4 separate regions of the Homo sapiens genome follow, and regions 1, 2 and 3 are each linked to region 4. The links are contacts of gene promoters, found by promoter capture Hi-C in blood cells and fetal thymus (Javierre and others, 2016). All regions are on one chromosome and are shown on one strand. The core of a region is centred on a gene start or on the middle of the fragment in contact, and the rest is flanking DNA. Distances in the headings are between cores, read along the strand shown. Region 1 has its middle 64 kb from the start of LINC00494. Region 2 has its middle 46 kb from the start of SLC2A10. Region 3 overlaps OCSTAMP (osteoclast stimulatory transmembrane protein). Region 4 holds the start of ZMYND8 (zinc finger MYND-type containing 8).

Region 1 (4,829 bases), core at 1,957-4,456, 940 kb after region 4:
TTTCCATGTGCGGTTGGACTCCAGCTCCAGGGACCACTGGGAACTCTCTGTGAACAGTTCTGTGGTCTACATTACATCTCACATAAAATGCAGCGATTTCACAGGCTGCAGCCCCACCAAAACAGTCTCATAAATGGTTTTTTAAGCTTCCATTCAGCATATAATGCGGTCTCATCCATTTCATTAATCTTGGTTACATTCACATTTTACAGTTTTGTTTTTCTGGCTAAGACCATTGAATTTTTTTTTTTTTTTTTTTTTTTTTTTTTTTTTTTTTTTTTTAGATTTCTCCATTTCTAATACGGAAATTTGGATTTCTGCTCAGAGATCATCGTTCACCAAGAATCTGAATTTTTAATCAATTTCTTATCTATTTGAACACAACATGGATGAGAGACATGTCCAAACCTTTCTGGGTTGCAAATACTGAGTGGGAGGCCAGCCTTCATCACCAGGCGAGAGGTCTTGTTCCACCCCCGAGCTTGACCGCATGGGAATCAAATTCATGACTCAGCCAAGCTTGGCATGGCTGCATGTGATGGGGTATGGTGGCCATCAGTGCTATTTGCTAAATATGTAAGGGCTTCCTTCCTGCCTTTTGGTAGAATTGCACTTCCCTGCCACCTTGCCGTTTGGTGCAGTCATGTGACTGGTGTTGTCTAAGACATGTGAGTGGAAGCAGCGTGTATCATTTTTGAGCCAATGTTCATTAAACCACTTTAGCTTCCACCTGTCATGGTGATTTTCTAGAAATGTGTCAAGATGAAGGCTGGGGCCCTGAGCAAATACAATGTGCAGACACCACTGTATTCACAGAAGGGAAACATAGCATTTGAGAGAATTAGCTGTTTCTTATTTTAAGCTGCTGAGATTTGGGGATCTTTTAACTGCCCATAAGCCATCCCAATTAACACACAGAGTCATTTACAAATCATTAAAGCCTCTGATGTTAAATCTGTGAATTGAAATGTTCTACAATGTGCAAATCACTTTGGTAACTTTTTTTTTTTTCATCTAGAAAAACTCAGTCCTTCGTCAGCTCTGAATTGTGGTGGTAAACTCCTGGGTTCTATCTGAAGTCAAATACCAAGGAGAAGGTGCAAGCTTCGCCTTCTGGAATAAATTCAGTGAACTGCCAAGCTTCCATTCTCTCTCCTTGGTACTTGACTTCAGACAGGACCCGGGAGTTTACCACCACGATGTTTCCTGCTGCCTGCTGTAGCCCTCTGAGCCCTGGGTCTGTGCTCACTATGCTGATCCTGGCGACCATGACCTCAGTGACATTTCTCAAAAATCCCATTTTCTGCTTTGACCTAGGGTCAGAGACACACTCAATAAGCAAGCCTGGTGTCCATCAAACGTTGCTTTAAATAAGAACATAAACTTAAAGGTCTTTACAAGAGAAATGGCATGTGCAGCTAATGGAGACCAGAGAAAGAGTTATTAGTCCAGGAAATCAGGAAAACTGATTAGCAAGACGAAAGGACATGGCCTGAAATCCAACTAAGCAGTGACAGATGCAGATATTATTCTGCAGGTGTTAGTTCATCCTGCTTAAATAGCAAGGCCTGAAGGCTGGTGGGATCCTTCACTCCTTTACGTTGACAACAACAACAAAAAAACACCAAAACTCAAATTTAGATAATCATCAATTGCAGAACAATTAAAAATTATCTTTGTAACCAGAAAACTATTTTTCTCTCCCTGCATGTAATTGTCTGCCCTTTGTCTGAGGCCTTAACAGATCAGAGGTCAAGCATTCTTAAGCTTTGAGTGGAACCAGAGCACTCAATCCAGCATCAAAGTCCTGAATGAGGTCGGCTCCTCCTGGAAAATTTTTGAAAGTACACGTCATCGCATTCCGATGATTCTGGCCTTAAATTTTCCTTCCATTTCTTAGCTGAAGGCCTAATTGAAAACAGCCAAAGCTAGTTGGGTGCTCTGTCTTAAAGGTAAAGAAGGACACCTTCAGGAGAAAGGAGGGAAGAGAGCTGATAGCTTGATGACTCTTCTTGCTGAACCAGCTGAATCTAAGGACTGAGTAGTAACCGGCCACACAGTATAATTTTAGGGACCCTCTAAGTACCACTGGACTGCTGTGTGCCTTCAATACTACCATTATTGCTCCTTTCAGGTGAAGGCACTGAATACTCCTTTTAAAGTAAAAACATCATATAATTGGAAGATTTAATCAGTCAGCACTCTTGGTTGCATGCAACAGAAAACGAGTTAAATAGCTTTAAATGAAAGAATTTTATTACATCAGGTGACTAAAATGTGCCAGGAATGCCTTGTTCGTTGCAGGCACAGCTGGATCTAGAGGCTGCAATGATGTCATCAGGTCCGGACGAGTGTCTCCTGGCCTCTTGGCTCTTCTTTTTCCCTCTCAGGACCATTCTTAGAGAGTATCTCCTGTCATGGCTGAGGACAGATTCAGCCCGGCAGAAAAGAGCCTCTGCTGCTCTCAGAAGCCACAATAAAAGGCCTGTTGCATCTCATTGGCCCCAAGTGTGTCACATGCACCCAGGCACTGGAACATTCATGGCAGCTTTGTTTGTCTGTGATCATGAAAAACACAGAGCCAGCCCGGATGTCCACCAGCTGGAGCTCATGGCGTGGAGTACTCTACAGAGGTTAAAATAAACTGGAAAAGTGGTCATACATGAAAATGCAGTGAAAGTGAAATACACGAGCATAGTAAACCTAAAGTTCAGGTGTGATTCTCAGAGGGAGGGAGGCAAACATGATGGTGGAGAGTTACACTAGAAGCTTCCACTGTGCTTGTAAAGTTTGATATCCTTTGTGAAATGGTTTGTTGCAGAATAGTTTTCTATGCACCTAAAATGCTTTTGAAAATTCAAGCCACAAATACCCAACCCACACTCAGCGTATCATCTTTGCCCTGAAATGATGTCTGTCCCACGTGAGTCTGTGCATCTTGTTAGATAACCTCAGAAACATGAGAACACTCGACTCGTTCTCCTTAGCAGCAGGCTCCTGCTAGCTCCGTTCTCCTGGATCCCTTTGGATTTGTCTTGCTGGGTTGTTGGGGAGTGGAGACGCCCTCCTCCCTGAAGCGTTTCCTCACATGGTGATTTGTCTATTGTGCATCAGTCAGGATCCCGGGAGGACCTGCAGGTGCAGCCACCTCCCCACAGGGACAGAACCAGATCCAGCTGCCGAGAACCAGGAGACCCAATGTCAGGTGCAATTCTGTGCTGGGATCTGAGTGGAACCACAGGTCTGTGCAGCAGGAGGTGAGAAGCTCATGACTACAGAGAGAGGCATGGCTGGGGACCCAGTGCCTCTGCCCCATCTCCATCTCTGCACCTCGGGGCAGCAGAACACTCCAGGCCTCTCTCACAGTGACCAGCATGGAGCAAGGCTGCCCATCTCCCCACCAGCCTGCCCTGAGTATGAAACTCCAGCATTGGAGATTCCTTCCTTTTTGGTTTTCCTTCTTTCCCTTTTATAACTGAGCAACTTCTAGGCAGGATGGCTGAATGAGCCATACCAGTCCACCTTCAGCAGGGGCTTCTGGCTGGCTGATGGAGGCATGTCTCTGGGGAACAGCAGAGCTCAGGGTAGGGACAGAACAGGGAGAGCTGGGAGGAAGGAGAAAGGCCCTGCAGCAGACGCTGCAGAAGCTTTCCATCCTCCTTGCCTTAACCTGGGGCTCACCCAAGTCTATACTCGTGGTGAGGGCAGGGGGAAAATTGCTTTTTCTTAAAGTCAGTCATTGATGACACCTCCTATCACTGAGTATTCTTGGGGCAGGCCTGCCCCAACCAGCTAGACCAATGGTTCCTACGGAATTTTTAAGGTGGACAGAAGGTTCCTCTGGGGACGTTAGTCAGAGCTGGGTGTCTAATGGAGCCCTCACCGCCAGTTCAGCCAGAGCAGCTTGTTTTTGATCTGTTTGACAAATAGAACTTTTCCATAAGGTTCCATTTGAATGAAGTCTTCACACCTAAACATTTGAGAATGGCTGCTTCAGTCTAAGCTGGGATCATCTGGTTTCAAAACCGTCAAAGAAATTTCAGCAGGAAAATTTGGTCAAATAGTATTGCCCTGGGCAGGCTTGTATGCCCACCCACTTTAGCCATGGGCATTAGTTATCTATTGCTAGATAGCAAGCAACCCCACATTTTAGTGGCTCAAAGAAACATGTATTTGTCATCTAGCAGTTTCGTGGTTCAGGAAACTGGATGTGGCTTGGCTGAGTTCTCTAGCTCTCAAGGCTGCAAACAGTATCAGCTGGGGCTGTGGTTTCATCCTAAGACTCACCTGGGGCTGGAGGACCTGCTTTTGAACTTATTCAAGTGGTCTTTGGCAGGATTTAGTTCCTCAAGACAGCGGACCTGAGGCCTTTGGTTCTTTGTGGCTGTTGGCTGGAGGCCTCCCTTGATTCTCACCCCATGGGGAGCTCAGCACTTGGCATCTGGCTCCCCCAGAGCAAGCCGGTGATGGGGAGAATAAGACATTACATCAGTCTTTTTTCTACCCTAATTTCGAAAGTAGCACCCCATCATTTTTCCCATATTCTATTTGTTTGAAGCAAGTCCCTAGGTCTAGCCCACATTCAACGAGAAGGGATCACACAAGGGCACAGATACCAGGAAGTGGGGACCATTGGGAGCCCTTTTTAAAATCTGCTCCCCACACTGTCTCTGGCTACATTTTAGATAGTTGTTAGACTAAACTGTGAATAATTGACAGACTGCAATTTCTTCTATTTCCCTATTTTAGAGGTATCTCTCTCCTGGAAACAGCCCTTGTTCACACCAGAGGTGTGAACAGAAATTCTTTTGCTTTGCTGGCCTCAAACT
Region 2 (4,603 bases), core at 1,533-4,032, 600 kb before region 4:
GAAGGACCCAAGCTTGGCCGGGCGCGGTGGCTCACGCCTGTATTCCCAGCACTTTGGGAGGCTGAGGCGGGTGGATCACGAGGTCAGGAGTTTGAGACCAGCCTGGCCAACATGGTGAAACCCCGTCTCTACTAAAAATACACAAATTAGCCGGGCGTGGCGGCGCGCGCCTGTAATCCCAGCTACTCAGGAGGCTGAGGCAGGAGAATTGCTTGAACCCTGGAGGCGGAAGCTGCAGTGAGCGGAGATAGCACCACTGCACTCCAGCCTGGGTGACAGAGCGAGACTCCGTGTCAAAAAAAAAAAAAAAAAGAAAAGAAAAAGAAGGACCCAAGCTTAATAATTTCTTTCTGACCCCTTCTGCTATCAGTTCTGGCGGTGCTTCTCCGTGATTTGGGTATAAGCTTATTCGATAAGGTTATACATATACTCATAAGATAATACACAAAAGCATATGCAGAGGGCTGCGGCAGACAGATTGCTGGTCTACTGGAAAGCCAGCTCCCCTTCTTGGCTAAGAGAGTGCCCAATGTGTTCCATGCACGGCGGATGACAATGTGCCCAATGGAGAGATGCTTCAGCCCCAGCCCCAGGGCATCCATTGCGATTGGGCTAAGTCATTCCTTTCCGCCAGCAATTGCTTTATAGGCAGGCAGATGCCCTGGTTCTGGCCACAGAGACACAAGTGGATGTCTCCTGGGAGCTTCTGAAACAGAGTTTTTGTGTGTGTGTGATAAGATAGAGACACTTGAGAAACTTCTCTCCTGTTGGTCTTATCTTTGGATGTTGTCAGAACGTTTGGAGCTGCAGCAGCCATCTTGTGACCACAAGGGAAAGACCAAGGGAATTGTAGAGACCCCCATCTTTGTGTCTGACATAATCGAGTTGCCAAATTAACCAGCTCAATTGGTGGTTAATTCCATTAATCCTGGAATTATCAAATTCAAGATTTCTTTTTCTTTACTTTCTTTTTTTTTTTTTTTTTGAGATGGAGTCTTGCTCTGTCACCCAGGCTGGAGTGCAGTGGTGTAATCTCGGCTCACTGCAGCCTCTGCCTCCCTGGCCCAAGCGATTCTCCTGCCTCAGCCTCCTTAGTAGCTGGGATTACAGGCGCCCACCACCACGCCCAGTTAATTTTTGTATTTTTAGTAGAGACGGGGTTTCACCAGGTTGGCCAGGCTGGTCTCGAACTCCTGACCTCCAGGGATTCACTTGCCTCAGCCTCCCAAAGTGCTGGTTTTACAAGTGTGAGCTACGGCGCCCAGCCCAAATTCAGGACTTCTGATTATATGACATACTTTCTAGGAAACTTGCAGTTTCACCTCTTTTAGATGACAGATTACTTGCAGTCAAAGCCCATGCAAACAACACAGGCACATGTCAAATGCCCCCTTGGGTGGAACGCAGGAATTTGCATTTCTAACAAGCTCAGGGGGCCACAGTTTGAGTATCATTGAGCCCAGCCATTTCTTGGTCTAGAGTAGGAGCCTGCAGAAGGGACAGAGCTCAGGGGTTAGGCAGACCTGTTTCCAGTTTCATCTGCATCCCACACTGGCTGGGTGACTTTGCACGAGGGAGTCAATCTCTTTGGGCCTGAGCTGCTTCATTGCTAAATTGAGGATAATAAAAGAACTCCTGGTTTTCTCCTCAAATCTGTTTCTCCAGCCACTTTTCCCATCTTTGTACATGACAGCTCCATTCTTCCAGAAGTTGAGCCCCAAATACTGGAGTTACCCTCGAGAACTCTCGTTCACACAAGCCTTACCTTCAATTGGTCTGAAAAACCTGTGGGTTCTACCTTCAATTGTATGCACAGCGAGACCACTTCTCATCACCTCCATCACTACCACACTGGTCCAGGCCTGCATTGCTTCCCGCCTGGGCCGTGGCAGCTGCCTCCTTGCTGGTCCCTGACTCCACCTCACCCCTGACAGTCTGTGCCTCACACACAGCACCAGATCAATTGCTAAAATAAGTAAGTACATCACTGCCTTCCTCTGCTCGGCTCCCAGAGCTCTCACCTCACTCACTCAGAGCAAGAACTGAAACTCTACCATGGCCTTCAAAGCTCTTGGAGATCTGGCTTCCTGGTACCTTCTGCCCCATTTCAGCTCCCCGCACTCCCCACTGTGCTCCAGCTGCCGTGGCCTCCTTGCTGTTCCTTAAACACACCAAGCAAGCTCCTTCCTTCTGCCTGGAACCATCTTCTCCAGGTATCCACATGGCTCCTTCTTTTGCTTCCTTCTGACCTCTGCTCAAATGTCACCTCCTCAGTGAGGCCCATCCTGATTGCTCACCTAGATTTCCACCCCACCCAACTTCTTCTGTCCCTTTTTTTTCTCCATATCCCACCTCACTAAGTGTATATTTGTTTGCCTATTTGTTTATTTCCTCTCCATGTATTGGAACGTAATTTCCACAAAAGCAAGGTTCATATCTGTTTTTCTTTTTTTAAATTTATGTTTAATTTACATACGGTAACATTCACTTTTTGGAGTACAGTTCTGTGAGCTTTGATAAATGCACAGTCATGCAACCATCACCAAAATCAAGACACAGAACAGTTCCATCATCTCCAAAAATATCTTCAAGCAACTTCTGGATAGTGAGGCCCTTTTGCCACCCTGCCCGATGTCAATCATGGATCTGGTCTCTCCTCTGTAGTTCTGCCTTTTCTATTTAATATGTGTCATATAAAAGACACACAGCTTGCAGCCTTTGGGGACGGGCTTCTTTCTTGCAGCAGAATGCTTCTGAGATTCATCCATGTTGTTGCATCCATCAATCGTCTGTTTCTTTTTATTGCTGACTCGTAATTTATCCTATGAATGAGCCACTTGTCAATCCATTCCCCAGGCGAGGGACATTTGGATTGTTTCTAGTTCTTGGTGATTGGGAATAAGCTGCTCTAACCCTGCATGTACTAGATTTTGCATGAACAAAGGTTTTCATTTCTGTAGGTTACACACCAGGAGCGGGATTGCGGGATCATGTAAGTGTGTGTTTAACGTCACGAGAAACTGCCATGCCGTTTTTCAGAGTGGTTGCACCATTTTACATTACCACTGGTGATGGAGGAGCCTGACAGCTGTTCTGCATTCCCACATGTTTTTTCTCATCATTGAATTTCCACCACCAAGGATAGAACCTGGCACTGGTAGGTGCTCAACAAATATGCACATAGTAGGTACACAAAAATATGCATACCTACTATGTGCACATAAACAGATAACTAGAGGCTATCACACAGTGGGATCGGAAGGATGAATTAGGGTAAAATGTATAGAGTGCTTGGTACAGTGCCTGGCCCTTAGTACCTGAGGATCATTGCTAACAGTAGAGGCCACTCTCCCCAGGGGAGGGCCATAGGGCAGGGGCCTCAGCTCCAGCCACACAGAGAGACTGCCTAGCAGAACCCTCCACTATGCTAATCGCTGATTCCTTGAGCTGTAGGCTTTGGGGATATAAAGATCTTCTCCCTCCAGGAACTGAGGAGGTAAGAATCTGCCCCCACGCCAGCAAGACCCGCAATGCTGCAAACACTTCCTGAGGCTCTCTGTGCCCCCCTCCACCCCAGCGTAGGGAACCCAGGAGACCTGGCTCCAGCTGTGTTTTCCTTGCCTCCACACTCAAAAATGGGAGGCCCACAGGCCAAGGAATGGAGTAAGTCTGTTTTCCTAGCTGACCTTGTCCCCTCAAGGGGACACCAGTGCCCCCACGCTGCTGAGTTTTCTCCCACTTTAGCCAAACTCTTTGGCTGCCCTTGTCCACCCCCACTGGGGGCCTGTTTGCCAGAATCTTTCAGCACCTTTTCTTTTTCACAATCACTCTGACCCTTTTTGCTATTGTTTTTTGTAGGTTAATTGAGTACGTTCTCCTCTCGGTGGAGACCGCAGGCAGGGCCAAGCACAACAGGCCCAGCACGAAGGGGGCCTGGGAGGCCCGTCCCAACTCTGCAGCCTGAGGCCTGCTCAGGCAAGGGCAGGGGGACATTGATGGGGCCAAGATGTAACTGACCTCGCCTGCAGGCAGCAGCTAGCTGGGGTGGAGGACGCGGGGGACGAGAGCATCAGGCCTCCCTTTCAATCCCTGCTCTTCCTTCTTCCTCTTTTTTGTTTTCAGAGCAGATTATCCCTAAATTCTCCTTCAGTTGGTATTTTCTGAGCACCTTCTAACCGCAGAAAACTGTAGCACGATGCAAAGTGTAATGACTGACAGAAACGAGGCTTGCAGTGGTCTCACCTGGGGTGAGTTTGTGCCCCAGGAGACACTCAGCAATGTCTGGAGACCGTTTTGGCTGTCGGCCCTAGGCAGGAGGGGTCCTGCTGACATTTAGTGGGTGGAGGCCACGGATGCTGCTAAACTTTCTACAATGCACAAGACAAGCCCACGTAACAAACATCGATCCGGGTGGGATGTCAGCAGTGCTGAGGCTGAGAAAACCTGGCTCCTCACTGTCCCATTATATGGATGAGGAGACTGAGGTCCTGTGCAGCTAAGTGACATGTCCAAGGACACACAGGATTTCAACCCAGAGGCCTGACTCTGCTGTCCTCATGCACCTCCCACTCCTAGAGCTCATCAAGGGACGGGGAAAGGAGTT
Region 3 (5,042 bases), core at 2,362-4,861, 810 kb before region 4:
AAAAGATGGGAAGTGGCCAGGCGCAGTGGCTCACGCCTGTAATCCCAGCATTCTGGGAGGCCGAGGCGGGTGGATCACTTGAAGTCAGGAGTTCGAGACCAGCTTGGCTAACACGGTGAAATCCCGTCTCTACTAAAAATACAAAAAATTAGCTGGGTGTGTTGGCACGTGCCTGTAATCCCAGCTTCTCAGGAGGCTGAGGCAGGAGAATAGCTTGAGCCCGAGAGGGGAGGGTGCAGTGAGATTACACCACTGCACTCCAGACTGGGCAACACAGCAAGACTCTGTCTCAAAAAAAAAAAAAAGATGGGAAGCCCAAAGCCACACATGGGTTACATGTTGCCAACTCAGGGATCAGTCTCAGCCAAGGTGGGTCCCTATGTCCTGCTTATAAGCACTGGGCCCTGCAGTTTCCATAGGTATGTCCAGGTGAGGAAGAATGGTATCTAGAGAGGCAGGGAAGAAAGAAGTTCACCATTTGAACTTTGGAACCAACCTGGGTTGGATTCTGCACTAACCCAGGTGCAGAAGGATAGCTTGCCACACCCCAAATGGTTCAAATGAATGCAGGAGAAACTCCCAAAGCTTTCAGAAAAGATGAAATAATGTGAAAGCAATGAGTGGGCCTGTACAATTTATGCTTTCCCAGAGGATCAGAGAGTGCCAGCCTCAAAACTTGCTGAGTGAGGGCCCGCAGCTTGCAAGAAAATGCTGGAAACAATGGTGGGGCATCACCGGGGCTCTGGAAGGCACAGAGAATGATATTGGAGGAAAAGCCTCAGAGACTGACTCCTCGGCCAGAGTCATTCAGAAAAGTCAGATTGAATGTTTTAGGAAAACCATCAGATTACTTCCCCTCCCTCCCTTCCTTCCTTCCTCCCTTCCTTCCTTCGTCCCTCCCTCTCTCTCTCATTCCTTCCTTTTTTCTTTCTTCCTTCCTTCCTTTCTTTTTCTTTCTTTCTTTCTTTCTTTCCTTCTTTCTTTTCTTTCTCTCTTTCTCTTTCTTTCTCTCTTTCTCTTTCCTTTCTTTCTTTCTTTCTTTCTTTCTTCGTTTCTTCCTTTTTTTTTTTTTGGAGTCTTGCTGGCTCAGGTTGGAGTGCAGTGGAGCAATCTCAATTCACTGCAAACTTTGCCTCCCAGGTTCAAGCGATTATCTCACCTCAGCCTCCTGAGTAGCTGGGATTACAGGCACACACCACCATGCCTGGCTAATTTTTGTATTTTCAGTAGAGATGGGGTTTCACCATGTTGTTGGCCAGGCTGGTCTTGAACTCCTGACCTCAGGTGATCCACCCACCTCGGCCTCCCAAAGTGCTGGGATTATAGATAGGCATGAGCCTCCATGCCCAGCCCCCTATTTTTCTTTTTATGTATACGCGAGAAAGATATGGCAAAATAAACCTATGTTAAATAATAAGTGAACTATTTTATACAAATACAATAAAAATTCTAAATGATAAGAAAGCATTGTGTCAAGGTTGAATTGGTAGCATTTTCTGCCCTAAGGATACATAAAGTAATGGTGTGACTTGCAATTGATGACTATCTGAGATTTGGTGAAAATGAGTAAATCAGGGAACATGCTTAGAACATTGCCTGACACATTTCTTTACTGTGACCTATGGTAAGAAATGCATTTTACAGGCCAGGCATGGTGGCTTATGCCTGTAATCCCAACACTTTGGGAGGCTGAGGTGAGAGGAATGCTTGAGCCCAGGAGTCTGAGACCAGCCTGAGCCACATAGTGGGACACCATCTCTAAAAAAAATATTAAAAATTAACTGGGTGGTGGTGGTGCATGCCTGTAGTCTCAGCTACTTGGAAGGCAGAGGTAGGTGAAGTGGGAGGCTCGTTTGAGCCAGGAGGTCAAGGTTACAGTGAGCTGTGATTGCACCACTGCACCACTGCATTCTGGCATGGGCAACAGAGTGAAACCCTGTCTCAAAAAAGGAAAGAAAAGAAATGCATTTTACAGTACCTTCAAAGCAGAGATTGTTTTGTAATTGAAGAAAATATTCAAAAACCATACACTCCCTTATTGCCTAAGATGTAATCTTATAATTTTCCAGTTGATTCTATTTCATTAAAAACACTATTTATGACTCCTTAAATTGATTAAATTGATTTTGTGCAGTCTGAAAAGCACTTTCTTAATATGTAATAAGTACTTGATAAATATAAACTGTTAATATTATTAGCTCGAAGTTTGACACTTTGATATGTTTTATGCAATGGACTTTTGTGTGAGACCTCACTACTAAAAATTAAAAATAAAAAGATCCGTGGCAAAAGAAAGGATCGAAAAACACAACTCTTGATCTGATAGTAATATATCCGATTATAAGTCGATAGTAAATATTTTCTATATCACTATTAAAATAGCAAATATTTCAGGCTTTGCAGGACATACAGTCTCTGTTGCAATTACTCAACTTTGCCTTTGTAGGGCAGCCACAGACAATATATTGACAAATGGCATGGCTGTGTTCTAAAAAAGCTTTATTTACAAAACCAAGAAGCCATTGGATTTGTCCTGAAGGCTATAGTTGGATGCCTCCTGATCAAGGCCATTCCAAAGTCCTCCTCCAGTCTGACATAGACAGATGTAAGCTATTAATAATAGCCACTCTTTATTAAATAATCTCTTATGTGCCATGGAGCTTACTAGGTACTTTAAGACAATACCACATTGTAAGACACAATAGCCTTTTAGGATTAGGAGGATCGATTCAATTTGTACAAATGTGGAAAATGAGGCTAGGACAAGCTGCCACTTGTGAAGGGTGACCTTGGATGCAAGTTATTTTAAGGTGTCTGGGTTTCAGCATCCTCAACTGCAATAGGAAGTGAAAATAGAAACCACTTCCTAGAGCTGTTGTGGGTATCCGATGAGTCCCTCTGCCCATGGTATGGGGCCCCATGGATGATTCAAGGGCTGTTTCTTGGAGGCAAGTCAAATTTCATCACAAGTCAAGGGTTTAACAGATTCTCCCCCTGCCCTCAAAACAATGACTCCCTTCCCTTTTCCCATCATCACACTTACATCATACTTGACCGTGAGCGTGATGGGCACAGTTGGCAACTTCTGAGCCCAGTCCACAGTAGCCTGTGCCAGGAGGAAGGCTACATGGTCTGTGGCCACCGCCACAGCCGTGGCCACGAGGAGCAGGGCAAGCAGCCCCAGCCTTAGAAGACAACTCAACAGCTCCTCCTGTGACAGCCTCAGCTGAGCCGCCTGGAGCAGCCAGGTGGGTGGAGGGGCCAGGAGGTGTGTAGCCTGGGCCTGTGCCAACCGCTGGGTCAGCTGTTGAGTGGCGTAGATATTGTCAAACCGCAGGTCTGTCAGGTAGCAATGGAGGTACCATGCCGACTCCACCAGGAGGCCCAACATAAACAGCCCTGTGACCACTCGCTGGGTCCCTAGCGCTGCTGCCCGGGCCAGGGACTCCAGGCCAGAGAAATCCTCCAGGACCTGCTGAGTGACCCTGAGCATGTGAAGGTAGAAGGCAGAGCCATTGTCCTGGGCCTCAAATGTCAGGCCCCGGCTGCCTGCCTGGCCTGTGGGGCCCAGAGCCCTGGATGCTGCATGCAGCTGGTGAGTGGTATTGAGGAGACTCTCCAGGGAGCCCTCGGTGACACACCTCAGCACCTGCCCGGCCGCACCCACGTTGGCCAGGACGTTGGGCACCACAGCAATGGCCAGGGTGGCAGTGCTGTAGGACAGGAGCAGCCGGCGGCCCTGCTCCATACCCAGGGTGGGCACGCTGAGTGCAAACAGGCAGCGGACTGGGGGTACCAGGCCCAGGCTCAGGAAGACCAGGAGGCCACAGACAGTGGCAACCATGGCTGAAGGTCCAGGAGGATAAAGCAGCAAGGATGCCAGCCAGTGATAAACCAGACCTGCAGCAGCAGCAGCCAGGGAGGCACACAGGAGGAGCTGGGTCAGCAGCTGGCCACAGCTGGCTGGAACAGGCTGGGAGAAGGCGTCCCAGGCAGCCTGCAGTGGGGCAAGGGCCTTCCAGAACCCCAAGTGCCAGGACCTCCACCTGCACACAAGGAAATTGAAGGGCATCTCTATCAGGAGGTGGGTGGGTGGGTGTCTGTCCACTGCCCCTGCCCCACATACCCATCACCAGGCTCTGCTAACAGACTCCACCCTTGTAGTTACCCAGGTGGACCAATCAGAGTAAGTCACTGTATACCCACGTGACACAAGCTGAACCAATCAGAGCCTTCCCCAGGATTACTCTCGCTGGAACTGTCAGGGAAGAGCCCAATTCCCATGCAGTACCTGAGGATGTGAGGATGAAAGTCTGCCCTGTTTGAGTCCATTATTACAGTTTTGTGAAGGCAACTGGCCCAAGAGAATGAAAGAGTCATGGAGCGAGAAGCACAGGTGAAAGAGAGAGAATGAGTAAGAGGAGAGAGAAGAAGAGAAACGATTTCACTTGAATTAATAGTCTTGGTGGCTTGCTGTATGATTCTGGACCTTCTATTCTTTCTGAACTTCAGGGTCTCCTCTATAATTTAGGGGTGAGGAGGGTGAACTAGTTGGCCTGTGAGGGACTTTTATATTCTATCATCCTTATATTTATTCATTCAACAAGTGTTTATCAAGCAACGACTTTGTGTTAACCATTGGAGAAACAGGAATGAAAAAAACAGAAGTCCCTACCTTCGTGGGGCTTGCACTATGTTAAGAGCGATGGCAGAGGAGTAGTAAGGAAAGCTTGGATTCTGAACACATTTTGTTGGCAGAGTCAACAAGATTTGCAGAGGCTGATTGGTTGTGGGGTGTGAGAGAAAGAGGGGAGTCAAGGATGACGAGGTGCTTTTGTGTCTGAGCAACTGGAAGCACCAAGGTGTCATTTCCTGAGATGAGAACTCTGTGGTCAAAACAGGTTTGAGTGGAGGGGGAGAGAGGAGGAATTCAGTTCAGAACTCTTAAATTTGAGATTCAGTTGAGCCATTCCGTGGAGCTTTTGACGACGTGGTTGGAAATAGAAGTCAGGAATTCAGAGGGGAGGTCAGGCTGGAGTTAT
Region 4 (5,012 bases), core at 1,543-4,042:
AATTTCCAGAAGGCCCGTTCTTAGTTCGGCCACTGCAATTGTCAATCTTTAACCTTTCCTCCAAGTCTATTGGTTTAAAAGCTAGAGTAGAAGAACCCCATTGGGCTGCTCTGGGAGCCAGTACTGCCGTCCCTACCTAGTCCTGCTGCAATGCAGACATTTATTTTTTTCCCCCTTTCCTGAAACTGGAAAATAATGCTACTTTGAAAGCAATTAACTTTTTACAGACTCATGCTTGGTAGGGGTCACAGTACCAGAGGAAAAGTGGCTAGCTTGGTCCAGGGTTGGGAACTTGCTGGGGGCTGTACATTTGAAAACAGATCTTGGCTCTCCAAACCTGTGGGAGCCATTTTAATGCAAGCTTTTAGAGGACAAATGCCTTGCCCTTAAGTTCCCTTCCAGCCCAACAAACACAGTATTATGCAAACGTTGAAGGCACCAAACCAGGAGTCTTATGATTAGATATTGCTTCTAGGGAGGCCACAAGAACCTCGATATGTAATTTCCATTTACAGCAAGGAGATAAGAACAAAGAAAATAGCTGAGTGTCTGAACTTACTTGTTTGGGGCAGTGGCACTGTTCAGTTTTAAGTATATAACATCATTAACTGCCTGCAGTTTTACTCTAAGAAGCTAAGCTGGCCTGCCTTGCACAGACTTTTCTCAACTTAGAATGTGGTACGTTTCTGCTGATTAAATGAGCCTTTTTCCAATTCGGTGTCAGAAAGTGGGCTACTGGACACTCATTTGAAAGAAAAAAGATTACTGACTCCATAAAGTTGACATAACACAGCAATTGAATATATTTCCTGCATTTACGGTCATGTCGGATTGGTCTCCAAGCTGAAAATTTATGTACTGAACTTCTAGGGAAATTCTGAAGGTACTGCTAAACAAGACTCTACTTTTCCCACTTAACTTCTAGCTGCAGCCTTAAGTGGTCAAGGGAAATGTAAAAAGTGAGAAATCTTATGTGGGGCCAGCATGCATACAGATGTGTGGAGGAGACCTGAAAAAAGGCCAAAATGTGTTGGTCAGTGAGTCCTGAATCAAACCCAGTCTGGTGGTAGATGAGATTTTGCACTATACATAAGTCCTAAAACATGAGCACACTGACACCACCCCCCCAACACACACATACCACCACCACCACCAGCTTCTACACCACCAATGTTTTTAGGGCTCTGCACCTCTAAGAACAAGCAGTTTCATGACATTTCACAAGCACATCACCTACTCACAGTTTGAATATCCAAACAAACCCCATTAAAGGTCTAGAGTCAAGTCACAATGAACTGAACATTTCTCCCCTGACTCAGGGTAAACAGGAAGTATAATCTTCAATCCTAGCTGCAGGTTATCAGGAAAAACAGTGGATTCAAACAGTCACCTAAAATCAAGACACTCTTTAAAAAGCCCTTATTTTGTTCCTGCTAATGAAGCCCCCAACTCCTGTAGCCAAGACCCACTATTACAAACAGACCCCAAATGTTCGCAAAACTCTTCAAACATGGTCACAGAGGAAATGGATTGCTTTACTTACCCAACAAATGTTCAAGCAACCGTCTCATTTTTCCACAGTTAGGAAGAGAGAACAGGCTGGCAGATTTGGGACTTGATCAAAAAGGAAATTTTTTTAAACAGTTACATGGTATTATTAAAAACACACACAACAACAACAACACAACCCAACAACTGAATATGGAATGCTGTCATGAGCCACAGACATGATTTTATTTCCTCTACACTCCATGACACAGGAGAAGAGAGGAGGATACAATGTATAAAAGGGACAGGAAAATGAAAACAAGGATAAAAGGTAACATTAGTTCCTTGAAAATCATGCAAGAGTAGAAAGCTAAGGGATTCAGAATCCTTGCAGATTTTTTTTTTTTTTTTTTTTTGCAGGATGTTGTCCAAGATCTCTCCCCCCACCCCCCAGTCCCCATCCCTACTCCAAAAAACTTCCTCCAAAGCCTAGAAAACACTTTCAGAAACATTTGCTGGCTGTAGGCTGGCTTGCAGAACACTCTGTAGCAACCTAAGTCAGGAAAACAGGCTGAACAATGTAGTTTCAAGTGCAGAAGCTCTGTAGAATAAGAGAAGACCGTGTACAGACACCACCACCCACCTAGGCCCCAGGAGCTAGACTCTCCTTAGCACTGCTCTGCTGAGGGCACAATTCTTTTGCAAACACGCTCCTCTCTTGTCAAAACTTATCCAGCCTTCCCAGAACCTCTTTGGAGAGGCAAACTTGCCTGCTCTGCTGTCTGCCATGAGCTCTCCTTGGAGAGGAGCCTGTTTGCTTACCTTCCATTTTCTTCCCCCAGCAGGGCATGTGGCAAAAGAGAAGACAATAGTGCAGGGGTGGGAGGGGGGGAACTGCTCAGAGAGAGAGAGAGGGGAAGAGAGAGGGAAGAGGGAAAGAAAAAAAAAAAAAGAAGGAAAAAAAAAAGCTTCTTTTTTGGCATACCAGGATCTAGCTTCAAACTCTTCCAGAAACACCATGCCCTGGTGGAAGGAAAGGTGTGCCAGGCCCTTGCCAGTTTGCAAAATCAAGCTATGGCTAATGGCTACTGAGCCATGTGACCCAAGAAAGCAAAAAAATTCTCTCTAAACAGTTCCAAGTTAACATAAGTGCTCTGGGGGTGAGTGTGGCACGGCCAGCCACAGAGAAATCACACTGCTCGCCCACAATTCGGATGTCTCAGAGGGAGGGGGAAAAAAGATGGTTAAAAAGTCGAGCTTACCTCTGTGGATGCATTGTTAACACTGTGTAATGTCAATACTTATAAAACATGGAGGACAGGCTCCTAGTTCTCACAGAAAAAGGGTTTGGCACTTCGGCTGATGATCTGGCCGCCTAATAAAAGCTCATCCCCGATTGGCTGCCCCGGCAAATCGGAGTGTAAAGCCGCCCCGGATTGGCTGAAACACTTCCTGAGCGATTATCTTTGTGAGGCTCGGGTGAGCAAGAGCCATCCTGTGCATAGAAAAAGACAGGCTAAGCTAGGCCTTTTGCAGCAAGAAAAACTTGGGAAAGGGGCCCCCACACGCACTTCTCCTGCACCCTGGCTAGATTTCCCGGCACGGGCCAGCCAGGGCAGCCAGCCTGACCTGCTCCAGGAAAGCCTGAGGCCCGGAGGTCCCTGGGAAGGGAGTTTCTTGGAGTGGGCTGGAACGGCTCACCCTCACCTGCCCCCAGAGAAACGGCCCTTGTCCAGGGAGGAAGGCCAGCCTTTTTCTAGAACAGTCCAGCAGGGTGGCTCTCCAAGGGGAAGGGGAAGCTGGGGAGTGGGGAGTCCCGGGGAAACAGCCAAGGGGCCAGAAAAAGGGGCTTGAGGCAGGCCTCTGAGAAGCTGGGGGAAGCAGGCAGCCCGGGGGAGCCCCGAAAAATCAGCAGAGAGCAGCCCTGGCTTCTCAGAGGAGCGAGGAGTAGCTGCTGAGGGGAGGAGGGGAGCAGAGTGGTCAAGTTTGCATAGTCATTGTCCCCATGCCTCCTTGCAAGGCAGGCCAGGGAGCCGTGGGCCTCTCGCGCCCTGCTTAGCCAGTCCTGCAGGCAAAATCAACGTGGGTTCCTGTCGCCCTGCCACGATGCCAAGGGGGACCCCTCTCGGTCCTTACCCTAAGAAAAACCCAAAGCCCTCCTCGCAGGCCACATGCCTGGATCTACAAACTTCCCTTCCCTCCCGGCCCCTCCCCCGCGGCCGAGACCTGCTAAACCTGTCAGTTAAACACAAATCTGACTTCCGTATTAGCCTGCGATGCCTTCGGCTTCCTGCCTGTTAACCCTCTCTCGGACTCGGGGCCTGGCTGGGAAAAACTAGGCCTTGAGATCGCAGCGAAGGCCTGTGGAAAAATACCAGCTGCAGCTCTCCCGGCAGATGCAGAAAGAGAGAGAGAGAGCCGCTGTCTCTCAGCCTTTGCTTCCCAGGGAGGCGTGTACCTTGTGAATCCAGGGCACAGGCAGTGCCTCTCGGGCTGAGAAGCCATTTCAATCCAGAGGGAGACAGAAAGATGGCACGCTCAGCCCGGAAACAAGAGCCCCCATTATGCGTCAGGCCTACCCCCGTAGGTCAGCCCTTCCTGCCACAATCATCCCTGTATGTGTGTGCCTGGGGGAGTTGGGCCCTCCTCGGTGGGCAGACAAATCCCCTGGGCTTCCTAAGGATTCTTGCTTCCATTTATTTGCACAGAGAACGGCTTCTTTTCGTCCCCCAAGGCAGATGGAGCAGCGATTTCACACACAGCCCTCCATTTGGCAGCCCCCCCACCCCCCCATCTCTGGCACCGCTCCCCAGTAAAATATTAACTGGTTGTTCAGAGCTGCTTACAATTCTACCCACTTCAATTGCGTTAGGAGGTCTTTGCTGGTCTCCTCCCTAAAGCTGCCTTCGCAGTTGGTCTGTACCCAGAGATAGAAAAGGACCGTAAAATGTCCCCAGCTTTCTCGCTCTCTTTCCTTCTTCGGCATTTTAAATGACAAGGTGCTTAATTAACAGGATTTTTTAAAACAGCAACCTGGAACCACAGAAGCTAAATAAACACCATTCTTTAGAGGCTGGAGAAAGCGTCCAGAGTTAACGCAGCCATATGCCAGGAGGCATAACTCCGGAGCAATAAAGTCTCCCCTCTCCTCCTAAAATTAGGACTTGTGGGCTTTCTTGTCCCACACGGTTCCCACAAAGAAAACGAAGAGCTGATGGCTTGCTTTCCCTGCCCCCCCCCAACCCCCACATGGACAACAGATGCCCACTGCTTGTACATAAATTCTTCCTGGCCGGGAATCTCATATCAAACAGGCTCAGGAACGAGCTGGGAATCGAAACTCACTGTACGGCAGGGCAGGACCCAGGCTTTATAAAAACGGACAGGATGTTGCTGTTGTTACTGTTTTAGGCTGCTGAGGCCAAGCTGCAGGGAGGGACAGCTCCATGGCCACCCAACCTGACAAAGCTCCAGGGCTCAGGACAGCAGGCCTGGGCCTCACCAAAAGGGAGGGGCCTGCTCTT

Evidence for each region. The method cuts DNA at HindIII sites, captures the fragments that hold promoters and counts their contacts. A CHiCAGO score of 5 or more calls a contact.
Region 1: a fragment that was not itself captured here is called in contact with the fragment with the promoter of ZMYND8 in region 4 in 1 of 17 cell types (endothelial precursors); the score reaches 5.5 in endothelial precursors.
Region 2: a contact is called between a fragment that was not itself captured here and the fragment with the promoter of ZMYND8 in region 4, in 2 of 17 cell types (M0 macrophages and M1 macrophages). The highest score is 6.3, in M0 macrophages.
Region 3: a fragment that was not itself captured here is called in contact with the fragment with the promoter of ZMYND8 in region 4 in 2 of 17 cell types (M2 macrophages and megakaryocytes); the score reaches 7.1 in M2 macrophages.

Annotation. Positions count from the first base shown.
Region 1 is chr20:48,293,833-48,298,661 of GRCh38, forward strand. No RefSeq gene overlaps it. Among named protein-coding and RNA genes, the nearest start is that of LINC00494, 64 kb to the right of the region's middle. RefSeq lists enhancers at 816-1,561, 1,562-2,305, 2,306-3,050. The HindIII fragment of the contact is 878 bases long and covers 2,768-3,645 here.
Region 2 is chr20:46,753,410-46,758,012 of GRCh38, forward strand. No RefSeq gene overlaps it. Among named protein-coding and RNA genes, the nearest start is that of SLC2A10, 46 kb to the left of the region's middle. The HindIII fragment of the contact is 4,761 bases long and covers 403-4,603 here.
Region 3 is chr20:46,542,284-46,547,325 of GRCh38, forward strand. It overlaps OCSTAMP (osteoclast stimulatory transmembrane protein), which reads right to left. Exons shown (of 3, transcript NM_080721.3): 2 at 3,044-4,046. Among named protein-coding and RNA genes, the nearest start is that of OCSTAMP, 5.8 kb to the right of the region's middle. RefSeq lists enhancers at 2,677-3,528, 2,735-2,804. The HindIII fragment of the contact is 2,232 bases long and covers 2,496-4,727 here.
Region 4 is chr20:47,353,907-47,358,918 of GRCh38, forward strand. It overlaps ZMYND8 (zinc finger MYND-type containing 8), which reads right to left and starts at 2,793. Exons shown (of 23, transcript NM_001281775.3): 1 at 2,751-2,793. The coding sequence starts at 2,764. It overlaps LOC101927377 (a long non-coding RNA gene), which reads left to right. Exons shown (of 2, transcript NR_134501.1): 2 at 1-727. RefSeq lists enhancers at 2,604-2,773, 2,617-3,224, 2,759-3,053, 3,804-4,153, 3,833-4,438 and 3 more and a cis regulatory region at 4,900-5,012. The HindIII fragment of the contact is 2,834 bases long and covers 2,455-5,012 here.